Linked DNA regions of Homo sapiens: all the other regions are linked to region 1. Evidence: promoter capture Hi-C in 16 types of primary human blood cells and fetal thymus (Javierre and others, 2016). All regions are on one chromosome and are shown on one strand. Each heading gives the region's core, a stretch centred on a gene start or on the middle of the fragment in contact. The rest is flanking DNA. Distances are from core to core; before and after follow the strand shown.

What was found. The method cuts DNA at HindIII sites, captures the fragments that hold promoters and counts their contacts. A CHiCAGO score of 5 or more calls a contact.
Region 2: a fragment that was not itself captured here is called in contact with the fragment with the promoter of GBE1 in region 1 in 1 of 17 cell types (total B cells); the score reaches 6.4 in total B cells.
Region 3: a fragment that was not itself captured here is called in contact with the fragment with the promoter of GBE1 in region 1 in 2 of 17 cell types (total CD4 T cells and total B cells); the score reaches 8.1 in total CD4 T cells.

The regions. Positions count from the first base shown.
Region 1 is chr3:81,758,749-81,763,727 of GRCh38, reverse strand. It overlaps GBE1 (1,4-alpha-glucan branching enzyme 1), which reads left to right and starts at 2,083. Exons shown (of 16, transcript NM_000158.4): 1 at 2,083-2,353. The coding sequence starts at 2,211. RefSeq lists silencers at 1,855-1,954, 2,455-2,534 and enhancers at 1,610-2,218, 2,005-2,294, 2,635-2,804. The HindIII fragment of the contact is 5,689 bases long and covers 1,382-4,979 here.
Region 2 is chr3:88,153,699-88,158,677 of GRCh38, reverse strand. It overlaps C3orf38 (chromosome 3 open reading frame 38), which reads right to left. Exons shown (of 3, transcript NM_173824.4): 3 at 713-2,657. The coding sequence ends at 2,043. Among named protein-coding and RNA genes, the nearest start is that of C3orf38, 6.2 kb to the right of the region's middle. The HindIII fragment of the contact is 1,595 bases long and covers 2,504-4,098 here.
Region 3 is chr3:87,230,302-87,235,280 of GRCh38, reverse strand. All of the region lies in intron 1 of CHMP2B (charged multivesicular body protein 2B), which reads right to left. Among named protein-coding and RNA genes, the nearest start is that of CHMP2B, 5.5 kb to the right of the region's middle. The HindIII fragment of the contact is 2,378 bases long and covers 725-3,102 here.

The DNA of each region.
Region 1 (4,979 bases), core at 834-3,333:
GAGATTGAAGTTATACAGAAGACACTGAGGAGTCTATAATCAGAAGTTTCTCAGGTATGAGGTGACATTTTTGCTGAGGCTGGAATGAAGGCTTGGAAAAAATTAAGCAAGTAGAGCTCAGCTCCCTGAAAATTTCCAACAGAGAGAACAGCAAGCAAATAATCTTAGAGGCTATTATACAACAAATTCACTGAGTTCCAGGAAAGTCAGTGTGACTAGAGCATAGTAAAACTGGAAAATGATGAGAAAAGTGGCTGGAAAGGTAGTCAGGGTCCAGATTATACAAGCCTTGTTAGAGAATGATAAGCTGTTTCTATTTTACCCTAAGTGAAATACTATGCTATTTAAGTTGCTAAATGACATCGTCTGATTTACTCAGTGTAGAGTCTCACCAAACTGTGTCCCCAACCACCAGCATCAGAATCACTTCTGAGCTTGTTAAAAATGCAATCTGAAGCACCACATCGGAACTCAATTAAGATCCCTAGGTGATTCATATGCACATTAAAGTGTGAGAAACACTGGTACAGAGAATGGAGTAGAGGTGAGAAAGAGTAGAAGAGGGGAAGTCAGTTAGAGAGCTACATTCTGGTCCAAGTGAAGGAAAACAGTGGCCTGCATAAGAGTGACAGCAGGAAGGATGAGAAGACGGATTCTAGGTCACGTTTTGCAGACAGTTTGTTTAGGTCTCCTAGCCAGCTAAATGGAAATCTCAGTAGACAGGCAGTGATACAAGCCTGGGTTTCTGAAAAAAGTTTAGGCTTGGAGATGTAGATCTGTGGGTCTGTTATTAATAGTTGTCCTGCTTCGGGTTTTTATTTTTTTTTAATTTTCTTCCTTTTTTAGTGCTTTATATTTTACAAATGTCTGCAGCAGTTTTTTGTCATCTTTATGGAAAACAAGGCACGTCTTAAAGTCGTTCAAGTCCTTCACTTTTTCACACTGAGGTCTGTCTTCATATCCACTTATCTTTCAAGTCTATGAAACCCCTTATAAAAACTTTCCTTTGAAATATTTTAAAATTCAAGGCCCACGGCTGATTAATACTGTTTCTCCTCCATAACCCCTAGGATCCTCCAGTTCTGGGTTTTAACAAGAAAAATATCCTCAATCCTCTCTAGTTTCTAGGTGTAAAGCAGCTTGGACCCTCCTGGGTTTGGTGGGTCCATCTCTCTTGGAGTCCAACTCTGTATTCCTAAAAAGCAATTATTGAAATAGAAGCTAGTCAGTTAATGGCAATAAAAGAAGGGAATTCCAAGTGGGAGCTTCCCAAGCCAAGAGGAAGAGAGGTTTCTTGCCTTATCACTGTAAGTGGCAGAGTGGAGTTCCAATTCAATGATATCATTTGTGTTATCAAAGGTAGTTTAATCGTTGAAAAGCTTGTTAACAATTATAAACACAGGCAAATGCCTTTTCCTTTTTGGCCTTACGGAGAATGAGAAAAGTTCTTCCCATGGCTAAAATTCTTAGCTGTTGGTAATGCAGAAAAGAGTACCAGAACAGCAGAATTCCAACGGTATTCCAGGATTCTGTGTCTTGGTTAATTTTAAATTCACGTGACCTGGCAAACTTAGGAGAGTCCTGGTTGTAAGAGGTATTAACATTTTCAGCAGTAGTACTCTAGCTACACTTGACTGTTCCCCTCTCTGTGAATTTACATGATATGTTTGAAATACTGCCCCTCAAAAGTCTCAGAACTTTGAGAAATACGGTCCTTTCCAAAAAAACCCCTTATGTCCAATTTGAAGGGGTCGCTGTCAGTGGGTGCTTAAGTGGGTAAAGAAAAGCCAAGAATATGTCAGGGTGAGGAAGGCCAAGGCTGAGCGAGGTCAGCTTGGGACCCACCTCCTAGAATGACCTCCGCCAGCAGGAAAAAACCGTTAAGGGGAGGAAAGGGCAGGTCCCTGCGGCCTCCAGGTGCCAGCCGCGTGAGTGGGCGGAGAGGCCTCGGTGCCTCCTACCCGCTCCGGACGTGCGTCCCGGCATCACCCCGGGATCCGCTCCTCCCCGCTGGCGGGGGGAGAAAGGGCAGGAGGCCTTCCGTCCCGGCTATAAAGGGCCCCGGACCGCCGCGGCTCGCCTCGGCTTGCCTCGACACGCCTAGGCGCCCTCCGGCTCCGCCCTAGCCGCCGCGTCCCAGCTAGAGCTCCAGCGCCCGCTCAGGCCCCACTCGACCTCTCGGGCCTCGGCTACTTGGACTGCGGCGGAATATGGCGGCTCCGATGACTCCCGCGGCTCGGCCCGAGGACTACGAGGCGGCGCTCAATGCCGCCCTGGCTGACGTGCCCGAACTGGCCAGACTCCTGGAGATCGACCCGTACTTGAAGCCCTACGCCGTGGACTTCCAGCGCAGGTACCGCCGGAATCCCACCACCCCCACTTAGACAGGCAGCCCGCCTCCCAGGAGCCGTCTCGGGACACGGGCCGCCCCTCGGCCCTCGCGCGCCAACCCCGCCCCAGGCGGGGAGGAACCTGAGTGGGCGGGGCTCGGGGTGACTCGGGTAACCGGGTTCTGTGGCTTCCGTAGTGGCAGGTTTGACAGCGCTGGTGCCCGGAGCGGGCGCTGAAGAAACTTCTTTCCTCATCCCCTTTCCCCTCTGTTCTAATCAGCGGTCTTGCGCCATAGGGTACGTGCTGTGGCTCCAACACTTATTCCCCAGAGTGCTGCTGGGGAGTGACTCACCGCCGCTGCAGGTTTTCTGACTTTGGCACCCACTAGCGTGGGCCTGTGGAGTAACGTGGGCATAACTCCTGGCACGTGTAATTACGCATTTAAAACTTTCTAGTTTATTTCATAGCAAATGTTGTGATTTTATATCTAAGAGGATTCCTTCAGGCAGACACTATATCCTTTTGTTTTTTCCTTGCTAATATTCCTCATTTAGGGGAAGATTACACCTACATTGATCAATTTTTTCTCCCCTTGGATCAACATTGAGAAGTTAAATGTACATCAACATTTGTCCGTGTGTGACTTTAACCATCTTGAAGAGGGAGAAAGGTCAGGAAAGCAACTTTTACAGGCCAATGTCGTTTTAGCTTGTCTTCTACCATTGTGTACCATACAACTTTAGTTACTGGGCTAATAATTCTATTCATAAGTTCCACTAAAAAGGTACAGGTCTTTTTCTGTTGTCGTTGTTGTTTGAAGTAAAAGAGCTATTATACAAGTTGTAATAGTTATACTTGTGAGGTTACCCCATTTTGATTTAATAGTTTCTCCCCTTTTAGGAGAGACACTGCAGAATGGAAACTATCCTGGCAACAGAATATACATGGCCAATTTTTCGAGTGATGGAAAACATCCAACTAGTTAACTGGCATGAAGGAGCGTTGAGAGTAATGAAAATGGGTTGATTTGGAGTTTGAAAAAAGCCCAGCAAATTGTTTGTGTCCTAGCATTTTCAGGTATTAAATGCATTCAAATCAGCAAGTGTTTATTGAGGAACTCCTATAAATAAAACACTGCTCTAGGGATTGTAAGGGATGTGAAGTTTCATTCTTGAGCTTGTATATAGTAGTGAATGAGGCCTCTGTAAAATAATCACCTTGAGCTGTCCCTCACTTAATCAGATGATTATGCTCTTATATAAACCATATGAGGAGCAGCCTTGTGAAATTGTTTTCAGAATTTACAGTATATGCTTTCAGAGAAACTTAGTGCATAATCGTCATAGGTTTAAGGTTGGATTTGATTTAGAAATAGTCAGAAAAAATTTAGAACAAAAGATAGTGATTAAAGGTAGTGGTTAGATTTTTTTTTTGATGTCCTTGTAACCATGACATTAATTTACCTGTGTGCTTTGTAAAAGGACACTTAAGATATTTATTAAAGAAGAGTTGTGGAAATGTTTTATCTACACCCCCTTCCTTTTTTTTTTAAATGACACAAACAGATTAACATTCTTTATTAAGTGTTTCTTTCATGTACTTTATTTCCAACTCCACTGGGATTGAAGCATTTATAATCTTCTTTCATGGTTTGCCAAAACTAATGAAGGGAACAAAGGCCAAGATAAAGAAGGGAAGAGAATCCAGTGTGCTTGGTGAAAAGTCTCGTCCAGTGGGCCCTCATGCCTCACTCTGACCCGGATTTTACTTTTGTCCTTGGTTCTGAGTAATGGCCATTTGCTAGCATACATGTTCCATTTAGGCATATCAAATAGTAATTTGGCATTTGTTAGTGGTAACTTCTATTGTTAACACTTGAAGAATAAAACATTTTTCCTTCATACAATCTGGTCTTAGTTCCTTGTCCAATTTTCCATTTATTTCTGATAATCCATTTGGACTGTGTGTCTTTGGCCTAACACAAATACATAACCAGTCAAACACTTAGGTGCAAAGTATGCTTACTAAGGAGTGAAGAAAATTTGAGGTACAAACAACAGTATATAATTAAGGTGATGAAGAAGGAAATTTCTCTTTGATGGACTGTCTCATCCTTCCCCAACAGATATCTTTTGATTTGAAATTTTTTGGATGTTCCCTTAGGATGTTTTGGATGTTCCTTCCCTTCTTTACCTTGGCCTTTTCCCCTTCTGTATTAGTCCGTTTTCATGCTGCTGATAAAGACATACCTGAGACTGGGCAATTTACAAAAGGAAGAGGTTTATTGGACTTACAGTTCCAAGTGGCTGAGGATGCCTCGCAATCATGGCAGAAGGTGAAAGTCATGTCTCACATGGTGGCAGACAAGAGAAGAGAGCTTGTGCAGGGAAACTCCCCTTTTTAAAACCATCAGGTCTCGTGAGACTTACTTACTATCAGGAGAACAGCGTGGGAAAGACCTGCCCCCATGATTCAGTTACCTCCCATCAGGTCCCTCCCACAACACGTGGGAATTCAAGATGAGATCTGAGTGGGGACACAACCAAACCATATCACCTTCATTAGTTGTTCTTTTCACCTTCTGTACCTGTGAGAATTTTGAATCAAGTGTAGAGGATTAATGAGTTACTCTGCTATAAAATAAAAAT
Region 2 (4,979 bases), core at 2,052-4,551, 6.4 Mb before region 1:
AGTTTCTGCGTATTCAAGTATGAAATTCAAAGAAACTATGTGACTGAAAAAGTAACACTGATGAGAAGAACCAAAGATAAACTCTAGAAGCGGAAAAGCCTTTTGTACACAGTATATAAGTTGTTTTTGCTCATTCGTTAATGCATTCACTCCAATATTAGGCTGTAGTGTGCCCATATCTAGGGATTCATGAAATAAACATGAAATAAAATAGCATTAATCCTCAAGAATCTCAAGACTATCAAAAAGATTTTACATTTTTAAGGTTGATTCAAAACTATGTGCAGAAATTGCAGCCTTATTTGTGCTTTACACGAACTCAAAAGTTTAATACTAAAGGTACCTAGAGGAAATCCCTGCCCTTTTTGAGTATCTCTAGTAACAAGAATGGTTTTTAATTTTATCCTTTACTTAGGATGTTTACCTATTACACTTTATAATGATATTTCAAACTTCAAACTAAGAAATAAAAGGTAACCCAGTTTTCAAAACTCAAGCAGAGGTATAGGATGGATAAAGATGGACTTGTGACCTGATTGTGTACCTTTATAAAAATATGAGAGGAAATTATTTTGCACACTATTTTCTTTATACTTAATTATATTACAATAACAGTGTAACTAGCAGTTATAAAATTTTCTTTGTTCTCGTTAAATGCCTAAAACTCTAAGAGCAACACAACTATAAATTAAATCTGAACGATACACTATTCTTATAGCAGACAAAAGGGATTTCCCTCCTTTATTAAGTTCTTATTTTAGGACATACCAATTCGTATTCCTCGTAAGAGGCATAGCATTAAAAAAACAAAGATGAGTTTCCAGGCTCCCATTTCCAAAATTCTTATCAGTCTCCCTAGATGATTATAGCAAAGGAAAAAGTAACATGTACAATACGTCATCACATTTCCCAATTGAGTTCTTTTCCAAATGGTAATTTTATAAATTAAAGTAACTAAGTAAATCCATGATCAGCAAACAGTTGCTAGGTGATGAAGAATTTAAACAAAGCATGTAAATAATTTGGCAACTCAACCATGTAACTCAAACCTAGTAACAGGTAAAAAACTAAATATTCTAAGTTATAATGTGGGAGTATATGTATACTTATGTATATGTGTATACACACATTATACATGCATGGGTTGTTTTGGGGTTTTTTTTGTCATCTCTGCCAAGATCAGCCAAGAGGAAGAACGGTAATTCGTTTAAAAGTTAGGAACTGGGCATACCTTTAAAATTTCAACAGCATATTTCCTTTATATTGTATTACAGTAACTGCTCTATAAAACTGTTGTCTGAAGCCTAGGTAAGAATAAAGTCTATTTCGAGAACAGCATTTATCACTGCCCAAAAACAGTAAGGAAAATGTTGCAGATTACAAAAGATATTTAGCTTGGACTACAGCTGATAACTTTGAAAAATGTTTCTCAAATCTTTAAAGAGGTAGTAAGTTTTTCTTCAACTGTTAAATTATTGGACTTTTTTGCAAAAAGAATGTTATTTAAATTTTCTAAAATGAGAACTTTGAGTTTACGTTAAACATCTCTAAAATATTTAATAGTTTTAAAAATATACTACAGTGAGATGCATTTGTAAAATACAATTATCCAGAGTTAGACAAAAGTAAACATGAAACTTAAAGAGGGGAAGCCTGGACCATTATTAATCCTTTCCCACATGAAAAGTGCAGATATTAGCAGAATATTCACTAAGTAAAAGGAAAATATTACCTGGTTTCTAAGGCACACAGTTAGCTGTAAGATCTAAAGTGGGATTTATTTGCATTAAGCTTTCAGAATACTTGCTGCAACTCGGGTAGAAATAGGTAAGTATTCACATGATATGTAAGTCTGTAGTCCAGAAAGGTATTTCAACTAAAATATGTCAATTTTCACATCTGAAATCATTCAGACATTACTGATATAGTATTTGGAAGAGTTTCTGTATAGAAGATTTTTTTCAGGCTGACAGTACTTAGCGCTTTAGAGGGTCAGGTAAACCCAGTTCTCTTTTGTTCAGCAATGTCTCATTTCCACTACCTCAAACTTGGTCCCCAGTTCCACTATCCGAAGCCTGCTTTACATTATGTCGTACTTCATTGGTACCACATACAGTGATTACATTATAAAAGGCCTCTAGATCACTTTGTTCAAATTTAACAGATGGTTTCGGTAATGTTCCAGGAGCAAGGGAACTCTCTCCCATAATTTTCAGGTTGATAAATTTGATTTTCCAAGTATTCTCCACAAAAGGGCAGCGGATGAGTCCAAAAATTTGTTCAAAAATGCCCAAACAAGTGTTTCCTCGATGGACAGTCCCAGCAACTCCAACCATAACCAGCCCATGAGGAGAAGATGCACATTTCAGTCCATGTGAATCTAGGTTGGGGCTGAGAAAAAGAAATTCTTCTTTTACTAGTGACAGCAAACGAAGGCTCACGATTTCTGCTCCATGGTAGTCCATAACATTTTGTTCTGATGTGTTGTAATAAAACCTAAGCTTCACATCATGCCAGAAGTGCTGTGGTCCCCATTCATCTTGAGGTGGTCCTAGAAAAGGATTCTGAGAATTAAGAAGTCCAAAGAACCAATGACAGAATTCTTCTCCTAGGCGACGAAAATCAACTTTTTCAGCTTTTTTATCTTCTTTCACCTGCTGATTGAAACAAATAAAATAAATACAAAATAACACTAAGGTTTAACTTTCATATCTATTTTTCTATCTAGCCTATTAAGTTTGAATGAACCCATTACACCAGAGAGAAATGAACCATATGTGAACTTGCTGAACCCATTATGCATAGTAAAAATCTTTTTTCAAGAGGAGAAAAATCATTTTAGAAATTTCCAGCTTAAATTGCTGAAAATTCAGCTAAGAGAGTAAGGTTTAGTAAGGCCAATTTAAAAATCAGTATGAACTTGGCGGGCGTGGTGGCTCACGCCTGTAATCCCAGCACTTTGGGAGGAGGAGGCAGGCGGATGGTGAGGTCAGGAGTTTGAGACCAGCCTGGCCAATATAGTGAAACCCCGTCTCTACTAAAAATACAAAAATTAGCCGGGCATGGTGGCGTGTACCTGTATTCCCAGCTACTCAGGAGGCTGAGGCAGGAGAATCACTTGAACTTGGGAGGTGGAGGTTGCAGTGAGCCAAGATAGCATCACTGCACTCCAGCCCGCGCAACAGAGCGAGACTCCGTGTGAAAAAAAAAAAAAAATCAGTATGAACAGTCATATATAAAAATATATAAATTATATGATGATTTATGTAAGTGTTTCCTCAGATTGTGGCAGTGTTTTCACAGGTATATATGTATATCACAGGTATATATGTGAAAACCTTCAAAACGTTCACTTTAAATGGATGCATTTTGCATATAAATGACATAAAGTTAATATAAGCAAGCATTTTCATTGTCTTTAAATAGATACTCTTACGGTGATTGAAACAGGTTATTTTCTATAACTGGGATTAATTTTATTCTATTATTTCTCTTTTTTCACAGAAAATGTTACTGTAAGCTGGGCGTGGTGGTTCATGCCTGTAATCCCGGCACTTTGGGAGGCTGAGGCAGGCAGATCACTTGAGGTTAGGAGTTCAAGACCAGTCTTGACAACATGGTGAAACCCCGTCTCTACTAAAAACACAAAAATTAGCTGAGTGTAGTGGCGCATGCCTGTAATTCCAGCTACTTGGGAGGCTGAGGCAGGAGAAGTGCTTGAACCCAGAGGGTGGAGGCTGCAGTGAGCTGAGATCATGCCAACTGTACTCCAGCCTGGGTGACAGGGCAGACTTTGTCTCAAAAAAAAAAAAAAAAAGTTACTGTAAAAATCTACCTGATACACTAGATCTCATTCATCCATGTGTTCCACAACACAGTACTTTACTGAGATGTATGAGATCTTAGGTTTACTGAGCACCTGCTATTTAATACACTGGGCACTGTGCGTGGCACTGGTTATTTGCCTAATTTAACACACCTAGTATATTGCAGACCCTAATTTGAAGTCGTATTTGTATGATTTCAAAGTCAATGCTCTTATCAGTACATAAAGTAAGAAAGCTCTTAAAGATTCTTTCCTAGTGTGAAGGCAAAGCTTTCTCACTGTGAAACCTCATTAATTCAAAAAATGTGGTATGTAGTTTAAAAATCTGCAAATTACATAGAGGTTAATTCAAGCAACACTTAAATATTTGTGCAGTATCTAAAATGTACAGTGGAGATAATATAAAGAACAGAAACAGCCAATGTCCGCTGGAGAATATTTCTACAATAGGACTTTTTCTAGTTAAAAAAAAAAAAGTATAAAAAATATTTAGGTTCCAATGTGGGGGCGGGGGCATCAAGAAAAATAGCTAACGCATGCTGGGCTTCATACCTAGGTGATAGGTTGATAGGCGCAGCAAACCACCATGGCACATGTTTACCTATCTAACAAACCTGCACACGTACCCTGGAACTTAAAAGAAAATTTTTTTTAAAGTAAAATTTTAAGTTCCTTTCATGACATTTTTGCAATACCAAAAACGTCTTAAAAGTGAGAAAGAATTTGCAATAAAATTCTTCTAAAGTGAAAAAAAATTACACGGAGCTAAAGTTAAAATTAACCTTGCAGTTTACTCTCTAAAAATCCAATAGTCCTCATTTGATGATGCTGATATTGAAAAATACTTTCTCACATATCAATAGATGATTATATATGCATCACTATATGTCAGAAATATTTTTGCTCTTAGTTGCTTTACTGGTCTCTTCCTTCCTTCAGGATTGATAGGATATGAAATAAAGTTAAAATTATAAAATATAAAAAAAATAGGCTGGGCATGGTGGCTCATGCCTGTAATTCCAGCTGAGGCGGGAGGACCACTTGAGGTCAGGAGTTCAAGACCAGCCTGGGCAACATAGTTGGGACCCTATCCCTACCAAAAAATTTTAAAAATTAGCCAGGCATGGTGGTGCATGCCTGTAGCCCTAGCTAC
Region 3 (4,979 bases), core at 664-3,163, 5.5 Mb before region 1:
AGATAATACAGAAGGAATAATATGAGAACGGTCTGAGGCAATTTTAATGTTTTTACAGCCAAATTTATTATCCACTAGATTTATTTCTTAGTAGGTATGATTCCATCCCAAGATTACAATCTCTTTAAGAGAAGGGAATACATATATTTATTTATTTGCTTGTTTGTAGTCCCACCTTTCTTCATGCAAATAGCATACCAATATATCATACTTACTAGCGATCTATGGGAGTACAAACATATACATTGAAATGTGAAAGGATTCCTCTTACAGGCATATTTAACACGTCTTTAAAATGTAAAACAAAATCAGTTGTCAAAAAAGATAATTTAACAATAGTAAAATATGAAACATGATAGGTAGCTTTCTACAATGGAAATGTGAAACATTGAAATAATTGGCTGTTTTCCTTATAACTTTCTACTTCCCCGATTTTTCAATGTGAGGCAAGATCATGACAGAAACATGTACAGGGTACTGCTGCCACCTAAGAGAGATGGAGTGCTTGACTCCTGTCTATCCTCTGCTTCTTTCTTCAGGCAGATAAAGGTATACACTCAATTTTTCATTCTCTAGGACTTCATCTACCTTGTGGTTTGTTTCAAAGACATCATAATAGGTGGTAATAGAAAACTTCACACTGTAAAAATGCCAAAGGTACATGGATATGATATGGTATATTCTCTCTCTTACCATTCAGTGAGATAAAAAGGGTCTGGAAGCTTGATTCATCCACCACCCTCTTTTCACCCATGCCCAGCACAACACTTAAGAAAAGGCCACCCAGGCCGGCTCCACTCTGGGCATTAAAAGCCTATCTCAAGTCTTTCAGGTTCTTCTTACTGAAGGAAATACACAGGTCTACAGTAGAGTGATGAGATCATAGACTTAAGTCTTGGACTTAAGAGACACAAGGTGTTTCTGCCTTTTTTGGTTCTGAGTCAATATGGTTTATCTGCTTACAAAAAATAAAAAGTCAAAAAATAAAAAATAAAAACAAAACAAAAAAGGTCTCCCATGTGGTCCAGTCTAGCTCACCAGAATTCTCTACTTGGGGTTTGAGGCCAAGCCCCAACTTGAATCATGCCTGTCCTCCCTACCATTAGTTCAGATATAATTTGTACATTTGAGGATAAAAGCAAAAAGTAATTATCAAGTATAAATATGGACATTCATTAATTTGTGAGTAATACTATTTAAAGTGCCTTTCTTTTGGGGGAAGGTGGGGAGCTATCTCAAGTTTGCAAGGCAGTTCAGGATGAATGCCTCAAGAATGCTGGGACAGTATGCAAATCACCATCGGTCAGCAGGATTCAAGCTGATCTACTAGAGAAGTAGCCACTATACTGTATGCTGTGTTTTTCACTATAAGGTCATAACAGACTTTTTAATCTAATAAGCCAAATTTCCTACTATTAAATGTATTTCTTTTGAGAAAATACATTTTTATCTATTGATTTTATTGCCTATCAGTTACTCTAAACCTAATCATCATATCAATTGAGATAGAAACAAAATGTTCCCACATCCTACTTTATAATCTCCATTAACTGGTTTTAAGGTATCAAGATCTCCAGGGAAGAGGTAGCTTCTACTTTAGACTTTACCTGCAAGCTCTGTAACAGCTAGTGTCAGTGGGAATAGTGGGCACTGTGACACTGGTAACAGCACTGGACAAATCCTGATTGTGCTATGGATATAAGAAAAGCCCAGAGTGAGCGTCAATTCAGCTAACTAGGCATGATGGAGCTTGCCAATGAACAGTAAAGTGAAAAGAAGTCCTGGCTACGTAAGGATGTTTCATCTTGACTTGATGAAGAGAAAAAAAAACTGCAAAAATATGACAAACTCAAAAGCTAAGGCATTAAAAAGAAATATTAAAGGTCACTATCCAGAAAGTTCCGGTTCTAGGAACAAGATTTACTCAAATGCAGAAGGAAAATGACAGTGAGAGTGGGTACAAAGTAATTAGAATTTGATATGCAAACCAAATTTGCTTCTCAGGTTTTGGGAATGGTATATCTGACACTCAGGGACAAATATTATCAGCTTAACTAATCAGTTCTAATACACGGTAAAAAGAAAACAAAAGGCAACTATAGAAAACAAAAAGAACAAAGGGGGATCATGCCAACAGCTTTATTCTACCTAGACATCGTCAAGAGAGCCAACTAACTTAAGAACCAGGTTTAAACTGAAAAACAGCAGGACTTGGAAGAGGCAAAATACTGAAGAGAAATTGGGGAGTCAAGCCAAGCCCTACAGTAGCATATGCGGTAGCAAAAATAATTTTTTTCTCCTACTAGTAACTCTCAAAAGTCACTCAAGCCCTGAGGAATTCATGTGAACCAATTTATAAACATAAAAATGCCACTGGTTTTCAAGAGCTAAAAGATGGTTTTGAGATGGGCACATGTCAGTAGACTTTTGAGTCTTGTTTGGTCCTCAACGGCAAAGGCTTTAGTAACATCATCAATAAAACTGCAGTTCAGAAAACTGTCAAAGCACATTTTTCATCTTAGATAAATGAGAGAATGAGAGGCAATGTGTCCTGGAAGAAAAGCCTCACAGGCCAATGGACCTGAAGATAGGAAATGGTAGCCAGAAAGGAAATGTCTGTCTTTGTTGTCATGCTGGGGATGCAGAAATACAGAGGGAACACATTTTTCCTACAGAAATATCTATTCTAAAAGTAGGGAGAATGTTTTTCTAAGAAAATGCTCAGAAGAGTATACTGTGTTCCTCAATCCCATGTTCAATTATTTTTCTTTGGTATGTCAAGAATGTAGGGGTTAAGTAGAAAGTAAAATTTGAGTTTTTTAAATATCCAGAATAAGGAGCACTAAAGGAACACATAGCATCCTGGGAAAGATCTGAATTCTGCAGGTACCACCATGAGAATAGTGTATTTTATTCTGGAATACAGAAAAAATGTTTCTGAAGGGTATTCCGTTTTATTTCCTTTTAACATCAGAAATGTGGCATCACAACTAATACATTGAAAGGGGATTTATCCCAACTTAGTCAAAACCTCACAGTTTTTGAACTCTAGACAACTAGCATATACAAATATCATCCCAATGAGGCAAAAGCCAAGAAGCTTTGTTCCTCTTCTCTCTGTAGTGTTCTTCAAATTACCTCTAACTTGCACTAAAGTTCACAGTGGGTGGCAAAGTGTGGATCCAGACTCTTCTAAGCCCTGGATATTGGAATACTACTTTGGTTAGTAAATGATATTATTTTAGATATTTAATCTCTAAATTAGAAACTCTTGCAGATATATTTTCATTTCTGCTGAAGACTCTGAAGCCCCTTACAAATATGGAATGTAGAAGAGACAGAATAAGCATTATCCAACTTTGAAAGTGCAGGAGGGTCTACTATGGTTCTAGTGAATCCAAGTCAGAAAGAAATGCCACAAAAGGGGAACATAAGGAGTACTTCATAGAGACTTTGAGAAGAAATAAACCTAGGATAGTTCAGCTTAGCTAGAGGAAGATAAAAAGGGAATTCTAGGCATAAGGGCATCAAAAGCAAAAATATGTCAGGGTGAGAAAGAGTATGGGAGATAACAATGAACAGAAGAACAGTGCTGCTGGATGCTAAAATGTCCAGAGACATGGCTAGAAAGAAAGGGAAGGGCCAGTTCAAGGAGAGCCATACACGCATTATTAAAACACTCACAGTGGATCCTGTTGGTGCCAGAGATTTCATAAAGGGGTTTACACTGAGGAGTAACATAGTCAGATTTGGGTTCAAGTTTCAATCACATACCCAACTTTGTGGATGAAGGATTTAAGGGCTATGAAGCTACAGGAAAGAAAAGCAAAAAGGTGGTATCGTAAAGTGCAAGTTAAGTAGGATCTGAATAGAGGAAAGAGTTGCAAACACAGAGAGGAAGATCCTATGTGTCCAATATTTAAGAAGCGAAAGAAGCATGACTTGGTAATTAGTTGATGGTAGAAGGCAACATCAAGCACTGTCAACACTGGAAGAGGATACCTCAAAGGATATGATGATGAGTTCTGTTTGGGGTCTTGAGTTTGAGGTACTGTGAGACACCTAGGTACAGATATTCAGCAAATTGTTGGATATCTGGCCTGAAACTCAAAAACACATCTAGAGACACAAATTTGGGATCCATCAGTACTTAAGTTACAATTAAAATAGGAGTAAATAAGATCATGCAGGGAGAGAATGCAGTTAGAACAGTGGTAGCGTAGGAAGGAACCAAGAAGAACACTAACATATAATGGGTAGGTTTAAGAAAAAGAAAAAAAAATAAATACAGAAAGGAGAAAGAAAGGAGTGGTCAGAGGAATTTGAGGAAAATTAAGAGAGTGCTATGTCTTGGAAGTTAAGAGAGGGAATTTCAGAGAATAAATTAATTATCAGGATCAAATGCAAAACATAGGCCCAAGAGATGTTCACTAATAATGGCCATTAGATTTGACAATCTAGAAGTTACTGATGATCTAAGCAACATCTCATTGCATGCCATGCAAGGCAAACTGCTGTAAGGTGGGGGAGGCAGTCTGTTAAGTAAAGAAGTGGAGATAAGACATCACTACTCCTTCAAAAGGTTTAGATGAAAAGCAAAAAGAAACTGGCCATACTTTCGAAGAAATGCTGTGTCCAGGGAGAGTCAGGAGTGGGTTATTTCCAGTTCCACCACCATTAGAAAGTAAAGTTCTACCACTAATTCCGAAAGAAAAGTCTGGTTCCAGAAAGAATGTAAACGTTGCATGGTATCTACCAAAAGTTGAGAATTCCATGTGCTTGATAAGAGCAAAATTAAACTGTGTCATGTATCAATCTCTAATAAGAAAAAAGTAATAATAATACTCAAAGGGATGAGGTCCTAGTTCTGACACTTAATAGCTGTATGATCTTGAACACACGACTTAGTCCTTTGCTTTTCTCATTTTATAAGGATGTTATATGAGTACTTATATGTTTTATGAGAAATAAGACATGGC